Regions from separate parts of the Homo sapiens genome. Here all the other regions are linked to region 2. The links are contacts of gene promoters, found by promoter capture Hi-C in blood cells and fetal thymus (Javierre and others, 2016). All regions are on one chromosome and are shown on one strand. The core of a region is centred on a gene start or on the middle of the fragment in contact, and the rest is flanking DNA. Distances in the headings are between cores, read along the strand shown.

The links. Contacts are between HindIII fragments. The CHiCAGO score rates a contact against its expected background, and 5 or more counts as called.
Region 1: a contact is called between a fragment that was not itself captured here and the fragment with the promoter of PAG1 in region 2, in 1 of 17 cell types (M2 macrophages). The highest score is 6.5, in M2 macrophages.
Region 3: a fragment that was not itself captured here is called in contact with the fragment with the promoter of PAG1 in region 2 in 1 of 17 cell types (fetal thymus); the score reaches 5.2 in fetal thymus.

The regions. Positions count from the first base shown.
Region 1 is chr8:80,679,642-80,683,053 of GRCh38, reverse strand. The region is part of intron 4 of ZNF704 (zinc finger protein 704); the gene reads left to right. Among named protein-coding and RNA genes, the nearest start is that of LINC02986, 140 kb to the right of the region's middle. The HindIII fragment of the contact is 4,455 bases long and covers 1-3,412 here.
Region 2 is chr8:81,109,649-81,113,515 of GRCh38, reverse strand. It overlaps PAG1 (phosphoprotein membrane anchor with glycosphingolipid microdomains 1), which reads left to right and starts at 1,448. Exons shown (of 9, transcript NM_018440.4): 1 at 1,448-1,925. RefSeq lists a silencer at 1,313-1,442 and an enhancer at 1,933-2,002. The HindIII fragment of the contact is 5,316 bases long and covers 1-3,829 here.
Region 3 is chr8:80,604,865-80,608,202 of GRCh38, reverse strand. No RefSeq gene overlaps it. Among named protein-coding and RNA genes, the nearest start is that of LINC02986, 67 kb to the right of the region's middle. The HindIII fragment of the contact is 2,998 bases long and covers 1-2,941 here.

The sequences.
Region 1 (3,412 bases), core at 117-2,616, 430 kb after region 2:
GCCAAAGAGTTAACCATCAATTCCACAAGACCCCAAGAAAGTCAAGAAGCGCTGATCAGAAATGATTTGTGTGCCCTTTCCATGCCAGATCCCTGATTCTGTCAGATTCTGGATTCTGTGCATTCCAAAATTGTCATGCCAGCTTTAGGACTTACATGACTTAAGCAAGTCACTTGGCCTCTTCAGCATCAGTTTCCTCATCTGTAAAATAAGGAAAATGGTGGCACCATATTGATGTGGCTGTTGTCAGGAATATACGAGAGGCCCTGTAAAGAGCAATAAATGTTAGCTGCTAATACTTTGCCTTTCCTCCTCCCCCCTCCCCCACCGCCGTTTGGCAACTGCCTGAATGGGGAATTTGAGAAGCATAGGTGTGGAGAGAAGGGGGTGCTTGCCTCCACCCTCCACCCTGACCCACACTGACCGTGCCAATGCCACAGTGGCTCAGGATAACTCCAGATCCCTCAGCCACCCTGTGCTCAATTGGGTGTGCATTAGCCCCCCTGCAATGCACTGGGTGAGTGCAGCAAGGACAGTAGCAGAAATTGGGGGCATAAAAGGAAATCTGACTCAGGACTCTGCATTTCAGAACATTGGCAGCATCTCAGAGGCAATTTCTAAATTTCAGCCTTCATCATTTCCATTTATTTCACAGGTATGTGTCTTAACCATGAACAGTTGTACCTGTGTACTAGGAAGAACCTCAAGTTAGAGAAGAAAGCACTGAGTTAACATAAGGTGCTTCAGTAATAGTTGTACAGTAGCAAACAATTAATCATTTGCTCCACTCTGTATTTTTAATCTTCCAGAGCCAAAAAGCTATGAATCACTTTAAATTGTGAATGGCTGCTCCAAGAAGAAAACAAACCCGTAAAACCCTCACGAATAAGCATGTTGCCAGTCTCTCTGCTGACTTAATTCCTAACCCACTAATTTTGAGCAGAGAGTGCCTCTTGCAAAAAGAACGGCTGTTCCAGAAATAGATCCATCTGTTAAAACTGCTGGGGAGGGCGATGCTAAGAACAGCAGCTTGGATCAACTGCATGGATTTCATGGTGATGGTACATACAGCATTGTCAGCCAGGGCAGGGAGCTGATTGGCCTCATAGAGAAAATTCAGGATAAAGAGGAGTGATATCTAGGTAACTTAGTGACAAGATCTTAGAATAACCTGCCATGCAGTATATAGGCTCTGGGACATTGGAGTTCGAAGGACTTTGGAAATCTTCTAGCCCAGTCTCAATCTTTCCAAGTTAAAGGACTACTCAGTATGTCTAGAAATGTCCAGACGTCCCCAAAGATGAGATGCACTTTTAGAATTCATTGATTGAGGAAGCACAGAATGACTAGGGATTTCTGTTAATTCAGAAATCGTTTTGTTGTTTGGTGTTGCTGTTATAGAAATCATTTAAAATCAACTTTATTAGGTATAATTTTCACAGAATAAAATGAACCCATTTTAAGTATACCATTTAGTGAGTTTTGACTGTCTCTACCTGAGTAACCACCACTCTAACCAAGGCCAGCACTCCTCATACGCCGCTTCAGTCAAAGGCACCACCAAGCCCCAGACAGGCAACCAACCACTGGTATAACTTTCATCACTATAGATTAATGCTGCCTGTTGTAGAATTTCAAGTAAATGGAATTATACAGTGTGTATTTTTAGTATACAAAATACCAAATGTTGGCAACAGGAACTCTCATTTATTGCCGGTAGAAATGTAAAATGGTACAACCACTTTGTAAAACAGTTTGGCAGTTTCTTAGAAAGTTAAATATACACTTACCATATGACCCAGCAATTCCACTCTTAGGTATGTATTTACCTAAGAGATAAGAAAACACATGTCCACAAAAAAACTTGCAGACAAATGTTTATAGCAGCTTTATTCATTATCACCCCAAACTGGAAACAACCCAAATGCCCATCAACAGGTACCTGGATAAACAAATTGCATTATAACCATACAATGGGATACTTCACCACATAAAAGGGAGCAAACTACTGATACAAGAAACAGTGAGTGAATCAAAAAAAACATTATGCAGAGGGGGAAAAAAAGCCAGGCACAAAAGAATACATTCTGGGTTATTCCATTTACAGAACTGTTTTGTTAATTTTGTATACACGTATCACCACAGCATCTATAAACAGCACATGGAGGTGGGAGGTGTTTCATCCGTGCTTGGTATACATTGAATTCACCTGTTACTTTGTATTAACCCCACACACCTTGAAGATCCAAAATCTCTACTCTCATTCAGTCCCCTCATCTTACAAATAAATAAATAAAGCCCCCAAAAGGTAAGGCAACATGTATACTGTGTAACCGTGAGGTAGCATGAGGTAACATAGCTGCTTCTGGAACCCCTACCAGCTTCTAGGAAGTTACTAATTTTTAAATACACGAGCGCATTTACTGATCTTTTGGCACCTGCTGGGGATCTGTGTGGACCTCTTGACCCTGAAAGAGCCATTGGAGCCGCTGCCAAGGTGTGTGGGTTTTCATGAGACAGGCAGAGGAAGTTTGTATAATGCAGCCAACTCACCTGCACAGAATAACTTGGCCCTCTCTGTCCGTCAAGGTCCCTGGTCCTCTCTGGAGAGGCTTGGATGTGTAAGCCCCTGTCCCTGCCCTGCCATTCCAAAACCACACACACAAGTCACAATACAAAAAAAAAAAAAATACCTGAAGATCCTTTTAGTCACCTCAGAACATGACGTTAACTCCAGGCTGCTGACTGATAAAGTGACGTTCATGTGCTTTCTAGAATATAGCTTTAGTTGGACTTACACGTCATATGCATGTTATACAATACTTTGAAGCACTTCAAAAATGTTACATAATTCTTCAAATTCCAGCCATGTTTCCACTCTTGGAACTGAAGGTGACCTTCAGCAGTCACTATATCAATCCTAAGTATCACTCTGGGTTCTGTCAAGAAAATAGAAGCTACTTCGTATATTCCAAGTATGAAACCATTTTTTAGAAACAGGATTGAGGCTTACTATTGGTAGGGCAAGCAGAGAGAAAATCAGGGACACCTTGGCCAAAGGTCTCAGCCAATAGACCCAAGGAAGTTCTAGAGACAGTTCAGAAGCTGCTGCAAAGGCGAAAATCTCTGGGAAGTTCTCTCCAACCATTGTGGCCCACAGCATCAATGTTGAGAAATTCTAAAGAGTTTGTCTGGAAGCTGCTATGCATCTCACATCAGGCATATGTGAGATTCCAGGAGTCTGCTCACGACTGCGTGGAGCTTCAGCTCCTCCTGGGCCTGTTGCGGGTGTTAAATAAAGTACACGTGGAAGCTGCTAGCACAGGACCAGGCACAGAGTGGTTCCCAATCAATGGTGGCCTCCCTCTGTTCCCTTTGCTTTACATGAAGAAGACCATTCTGTTAGACTTGA
Region 2 (3,867 bases), core at 199-2,698:
AAATGGGGATACTTTTTTATATTATTATTCAACTTAAGAGACCACTGTGAAATTTCAGTGAGGTAACGTATGTGAAATGTTATACTCCATAAGTTCTTAAACACCTGAGTTTCATACCATGCTCTGAAGCAAGAGGCCAAGTCTGGTTCCTGGGTCCGCTTCCCCAATGGGCTTTTCCAAGCTGTAGGCTGAGTCTAAACTGTTTCCTCCCACATACCCTTCCCTCTGCGACACACTAACAACATCCCTTACTCCATCACTGTCTTCCTTACCCTCTCCTGATGAGCCTTCTTCCCCAGCCACCTTTAAGCTCCCATTAATGATATGTGTAACGAGTGTTCAATAGAGTGTGTGTGTGTATATTTAATGCCATTTATATGTTTTTTCTTGCTAAGTAATGCATCATAATTTTAGAAAATTGGGACTAGTCAGATAAAGCACCCGTTGGTTTAGAATCCCTGACTCAAAGTCAGATGTCCTGAGTTCTAGACTTGGTTTGTCTCCTTGTAAGTGCAAAAGTTTATTCCCAATTCCAGGTTGCTAGTGTAAACTTGAAGTTTGGCCCAAACAAAACCCCTATCAGATTTATTTAGAGTGTTGATGCCAAATGGAATTCTAGAAGCCCACCTTTGCCAGGGGCTGAGCCAGAACCACTATCACTGGGGGTACGGCCTGGGCATTTGTTCTGCGTTTTTTATAAGCCCCTCGGGTGACTGTCAGACAGGCCAACTGTTTCAGAAGCTCTGCTCCAGGCTCTAGATCACACGTTAAGTAGCAAGGATGGGGGTCTGGACCTCCAGTATTGGCATCCTCCGAGAGCTTGTTAGAAAGGATGTCTCCCTCATTATCCCAGGCCTACTGAATCTGAATCTTGCATCTCATCACAATCCGCAGGAGATTCTGTCACACACTGAGGGTTTGAGAAGCACTGCTGTACCTTGGTATCTTTAGATACCTACTGATACCTGGGTGGGCCCCACCCAGACATTGTCCTGTACTTGTTCTGGGATGCGTCCGGGGCAAAGGGTTCTTACAAGCTCCCCAAGTTATTTTAATGCACAGCCACAATAGAAGATCACTGTCCCCCAAATGGCAACCCTTTACGGTTAAGCTGTAACCTGAATTAAATTGGCTTTTGTGGGCTCCCCAGGGACCTTAAGGACCGCTTAAACGGTGCTGTTTAAAGGACAATGGGCTCCTGGGACAAGTTCAACCACAGAGCTTTGGGTTCATAAAATCAGGGCAGGGAAGACTTCCTGCATCCTCCCGCGAGCAAGCCAGGCCCCGCGCCGGTCCTCACCCGTGTGCACCCCCAGCCCGGCCCCGCCCGGCTCGCCCCCTCCCGCCCCGCGGCCCGCCCCTCCTCCCCCGTGACGTGCCGCTGCGGCCAGGATCATGCGCACTCGCGCCCCGCTCCCCGCGCGGCTGCTCCGCCTCGGCGCCTGTCATTCTCCGCGGCGCGGCGGCGAGTGCTGGCTGCGGTACCCTCCCGCTCGCTTGTCCGTCTGCGCGCCCGCGATGTGACCAGCCGACTGGGGGCGGGCTGGCGGCTCTGCCTGCGGCAGCGCATCGGTTTTTCTCCTGGCAGGTCCCTAATTGAGCCGTGATTCCCTTGGAGCCAGAGACACCCACCAGGGGCTCGGAGCGCCGCGCTCCGGGGCTGGAGGCAGCTGCAGCGCTCGGGTCCGCGCGGCCGGGTGCAGTAGCCTCAGTCCCAGCCGCCGCCTCGCTGAGTCGTGTGCCCTGGCGAATGCCCGGCGCCCGGCACAGCTGAGCCAAGGCGACTGGTGCAGAGCGGCGGCGCCTGGTCCTGCACTTGCCGCTGCTGCCGGGCTGTGCCGGGGCGGCGGCGCTGCGCGCCGGAGTTTGCAGAGGCTGCCTCCGAGCGCCGTCCGCCAGGAAGACTCCCTGCCTCCTGAGTCCCAGTAAGTTGACTGTAGTTTCTGAAGTTGGAGGGAGCCGTGGGAAGGAGAGGTTCGTTTTTATCTTCTTGTGGGAAGCCGAGGGTGGCACCTCTTGTTAACAGAGTTCCAGCTCGAGGAGGGAGTGCGGGGTGCCAAGAAGGGGACAAGGCAGCTGGAAGGTCTGGAGTCCAGGGCTGGCTGACCTCAGCATCTCACGAATGTGCCAGTTGGAAATATGCTGGGAGAGGACAGGTACTCCTAGGGCATTTCGACTGCTGCGTGCTAATTATTCATTCCAAGCTCCTTGACTCTGTGTTTACGTTGGGGTGAAGGGGCTGGGCAGGGTCTTGTCACCTCCATCCTAATTCCTCTGGGGAGTGTGGCCAGCACTGCGATGGATCTTTGGGCGAGCCATTTCTTTCAGGCCTGCAGGCTTCCCGCGCATCCCGCTTTACTCTTCCCCTAGGCAGAAGTTGCCAACCTTTTCATAATTGGAGCCTAGTCCTTTAGGGAAAAAACAACTTATATGTCGACCCGGTGTTTTATGCCCTAAGGCAAATAAAACGAGCTCTGGGCGTGTGAATTCATACACTTTAAGAATGTAGGCAAGTCTCAAGAAATAGGATTCAGATAATGACACTTGGATTTCACCCTGATTGTCCTGCACCTCTTATGTAAGCCTCCCGGCTGGATAACTTTATCTCTGCAGTGGCTGCAGCTGTGGCCCTCCATTCCATTTGTTTAAAGTCCAATTGAACAGTATTTACTGAAAATGCTGACATGATATAGCGGCCTGAAGTCTGAAACAGAGTGCACTCTTCAAATTGGAGTGTCTTCTCCTAATAGGGAGCATGGGAGGAACAACCCACTATATTTTTCAAGGCAGCTCCAGGAATTAGACCCATAAATCATGTTTTAAAATAGCATGCATTGTGCAGAGAGCATGCAGAGGACCGCTTTTTGAACACATCCCCTTTGTTTTAGAAAAAGTGGAAATTGTTCATGCCAGACAATTGTTGAGTCTAAAAGTTAAGTGTACTGATGGGCCTAATTATCTTAATAAACAAAGAGCATGATTTATAGGTAGCTGCAGTGCCCTACTTTGAAGGATAGAAATCTTTAACCTTTCTTTCTCAGCTGTTCCCGAGAGATTCCTTTTAAGCAGAGCTATGGATTATCATCATTGATGTTTAATACCTGAGTTGGTTAAACTTGTAAAAGGAATAGTACTTTGAAGTACCATGCAGTACTGCTGTGTGACTGTTACACAGCGAATATTATAAATAAGAGGAATATTTGGAGTATTGGGTATAGATGTCATTAGTTTAACAAAATAGGTCATATTAAGACTTTCCTGCTAAATATATATACACATACATAAATGTTTAATTTGGACTTGAAATTATTGTTTAAACCAAAGCTCAGGGGTATGTTTTAATGTAAGATTTATTTACATAATCTTTGAAGAGAGAAGTGCATTTATTTATGGTATTTCAGCATGCAGAACAAGATGAACTAGTTATAGGCACCTTATTTAAAGTGTAAAGGGTTTTTTTTTAGGAATACTAAGAAAATACACAAAATGTTATTTCAGAAGTTGAAAAGTTAGTCACATCAACACATTGCGGTTTGTGAGAGCATCCAGTGCTTATCTCTAGAAGAGATTACATCCAAGCATGGAATCTCAAACAGATTGACCCATTAAGCCCTATTGCAGCCTGGTTAGGAGGACAGGCTATGGAGCCAGGCTGCCAGCTCTGGTACCATCTGTTTGAATCTAGGCAAGTAACCCAAAGTCTGTGCCTCAGTGTCTTCATCTGTACAATGGGGATGACAGTAGTAGTACCTACCCCACTGAACAGTAGTGAGAATTAAATGAGTTCATAGACATAGAGCTGTTGGGCCAGTATCTGGCATATTAAGCTTGTTCTGGGAAAAATTTTCATTGTTATGAAAGGAAATG
Region 3 (3,338 bases), core at 193-2,692, 510 kb after region 2:
GTGTCCAAGGCAAGGTGGATAGCTCACCAGTACCCTAACGAGAGAGCTCGCTGGAGCAGGCTGGAGGCCGCTGTCCTCAGCCCTCTCCCGATCCTATTTTTATTAATGACTTGGATGGAAGTACTGAGGGCACGCTGATCTCATTAACAGATGACAGATAGCTGGATGGGGTAAAGGAGATGTTGAATGATGACATCAGGACCCAAAGACACAAAGTGACGGTCCAAATCTATCAAGACGAAACTTAATAGGGGATATTAGTTAGAATTAGATTCCACTTTGAGTGACAGAAAACCCAAAATAGCACTGGCTTATTAAGATAGAAATTTATTTCTCATTCACATAAATGAACTCTGGAAGTATCAGGCCACAGTCAATGTGGTGGCTCTGTTCCCTGGAGTTCTGAGGATTCAAGCTCCCCATCCAACTCACTACCATCCTACTCATCCAACTCATCCACCATTCCTACGGCCTCTTCCTCAAGCTGAAGATGGAGACATCCATGTTCCAGATAGCACAACGGAGAAAGGTTGGAGAACAGCGTCCATTCTTGCTGGTTTTTGAGGGTTCCACATGCTACTGCTGTGCTTCTGCTTGCATCCTATTGGCCAAAGTTGTGCCTATTGGCACAGAGGCAATGGACACTAAGAATTGTAGTCTATTTGTCTAAGCAGCTCAGCTAAAAATGCTATTACATGGACAAAAGAGAGAGCAAATATTGGGACACAATAAGCAGTCTCTGCCAACCAAAGCAAAAATAAAGCCTGTCGGGCTGGGTGTGGTGGTTCATGCATATATTCCCAGCACTGTGGGAGATCATGGTGGGAGGATCACTAGAAGCTAGGAGTTCAAGAGCAGCCTGAGCAACGTAGCAAGACCCTGTCTACAAAAACAATAAAAATCAGCCAGGTGGCCAAATGTGATGGCTCACACCTGTAATCCCAGCACTTTGGGAGGCTGAGGCAGGCAGATCCCAAGGTCAAGAGATCGAGACCATCCTGGCCAACACAGTGAAACTCCGTCTCTACTACAAATACAAAAATTAGCTGGGCGTGGTGGCGCACTCCTGTAGTCCCAGCTACTCGGGAGGCTGAGGCAGGAGAATCACTTGAACCAAGGAGGTGGAAGTTGCCATGAGCCAAGATCACACCACTGCACTCCAGCCTGGTGACAGAGTGAGACTCGGAGACTCTGTCTCAAAACCAAAAAAAAAAAAAAAATTAGCCAGGCATGTTGGCATGCACCTATAGTACCAGCTACTCAGGAGGCTGAGGCAGGAGGATCTCCTGAGCCCAGGAGTTTAAGGCTGCACTGAGCTACGATCATGCCACTGCACTCCAGCCTGGGTAACAGAGTAAGATCCTGTCTCAAAGCAATTAAAAATAAATAAACAAAAGCCCTTCATATAATCCCTAAAATGCAAACGCCCCTCCAAGGTTTTGGTGTTAAAGAAGGAGGTAGGCAGTAATAACCACACAAGCAGTCCTCAGCTGTTCCCGTGCGAAGACAGAAAACCCAAGCCATACTGGGTTTTAAGTAAAAAGAGAAGATGTGGGATACATAACTGACATTTCCAGAAACAGTATTAGCTTCAGGAATGTCTCAAATGATGTCAGCAAAATTTGACTCTCTTCCTAGCTCAGCTCCACAGCCTCCCATGCTAGGTTTATTCCTGGGCTATACATGGTGGCAAGATGTCCATCAGCAGGTCCAGGTTCCCATCTCCTGGACCTTTGGTGAGAGCAGGGAGAGAGTCAAGTTCACGCTCCTCTACCCTCACCTCCACTCATTCTTCAGGTCAGCTTCCTCCAGCAAGGTGGTTCTCAACCCTGGCTATGCATTTTTAGATTCCTGATGCCCAGGATCCCATCCCCAAATCTGGTTTTATTGTTTCACGGTAGGGGACTGGCACTTTAAAAATCTCCCCAGTGATTCTCTGCTGATTCTCCTGAGCATCCAGGGTGGAGAACACCTGCTCTCACATTGTGGGAAAATGGACTCTTTCCCTCTCTGGAGTCACTTCCCGAGATGCTCTCTGTGGAGGTCATGCGTCTCCATCAAGTTCTGCCTCACCGTGGCCCCTTCACTGTACTGCTGGTCACCATGTCACCCCCTGCACCTGTGTTCCCTTCATGGGATCCAGCTTTTCTTTATGGGGCCTGAGGGAGAGAAAGCCAAGGAGGCACCTCTTGACTGTCCTACCCTTCCATCTCTCCAATCACCTGGTTATCAAGGTTGACTTTCTTTTATTGAAGGACTGGGGAAATTTTAAAAGGGAAATACCAGTAAGAAGAAAAATATTCTACATTTTGGGGCCATCTGCTCATAGTCTATAATGGAAATTGAGGACTAGGACTTGAGGAATGTCAACAATAAAAGCTCCATAGCAAGGATTAGCCCATCAAAGAAACCGTGAAGGATTAGCTAGAGAGGCCACAGGAAACCCACAAGAGCACAGACTTCTGGAAGAAAACAGAGGCTGGAAATGATCAGAGACTAAGTGACTTACTGCTCCATTCTTCTGTCTAGCGACCCTTACCTGTCATCCACACTGGTGACTACTTCTTTCAATGAAATACAAAATTCCAAATTTCACATGAAGCTCAAGTTACTACCTTTTGGCTGGGCATGGTGGCTCACGCCACTTTGGGAGGCCAAGGTGAGAGCGTTGCTTGAGCACAGGAGTTTGAGAGCAGCCTGAGCAATATAGCAAGATCCCCGTCTCAATTTTTTAAAAAGTTACTACCTTTTGACACGTTATGAGTAGATATTCAGATTTCTTTACAATAAAACAGGGGCTCATGAAAGGCTAGATCTTAAAAGATAGGGCTCCTCAAATCCCACAAATATTAAATCAGATGTCTGTGGTTCCCAAACTATGTGCTGAGGTACGCTGGGTCACTGTAGTGAAGAAGATGAGCACTGCAGGAGGTTTCAAGCTTTTGAGGGAAACAAGGTGACATCTGCCAGGCACTGTACAAATGCTACCATTAAGTTATTTGGACTTTAATAAACCAAAATGTTTTATATCTATATTTGTATATATATATGTGTGTGTGTGTGCATATATATAAAAATCTATATATATATATATAAATCTATATATATAAATCTATATCTGTATATATAAATCTATATCTATATATATATATAAATCTTTTGGCCTAGGGCCCATGCATAAATAACTGAATGACTATAGCTATGAACTGAGAAAGTTTGGGAACTTCTAAAATAGGTAACTGATTGACCACAGCAGACCAATAGCTCTCTCTCTCTTCATCCTACTTGGCATCATTGCAGCTGTCAGCCTAAAAATATGACACCCCAAAAGCACAAGT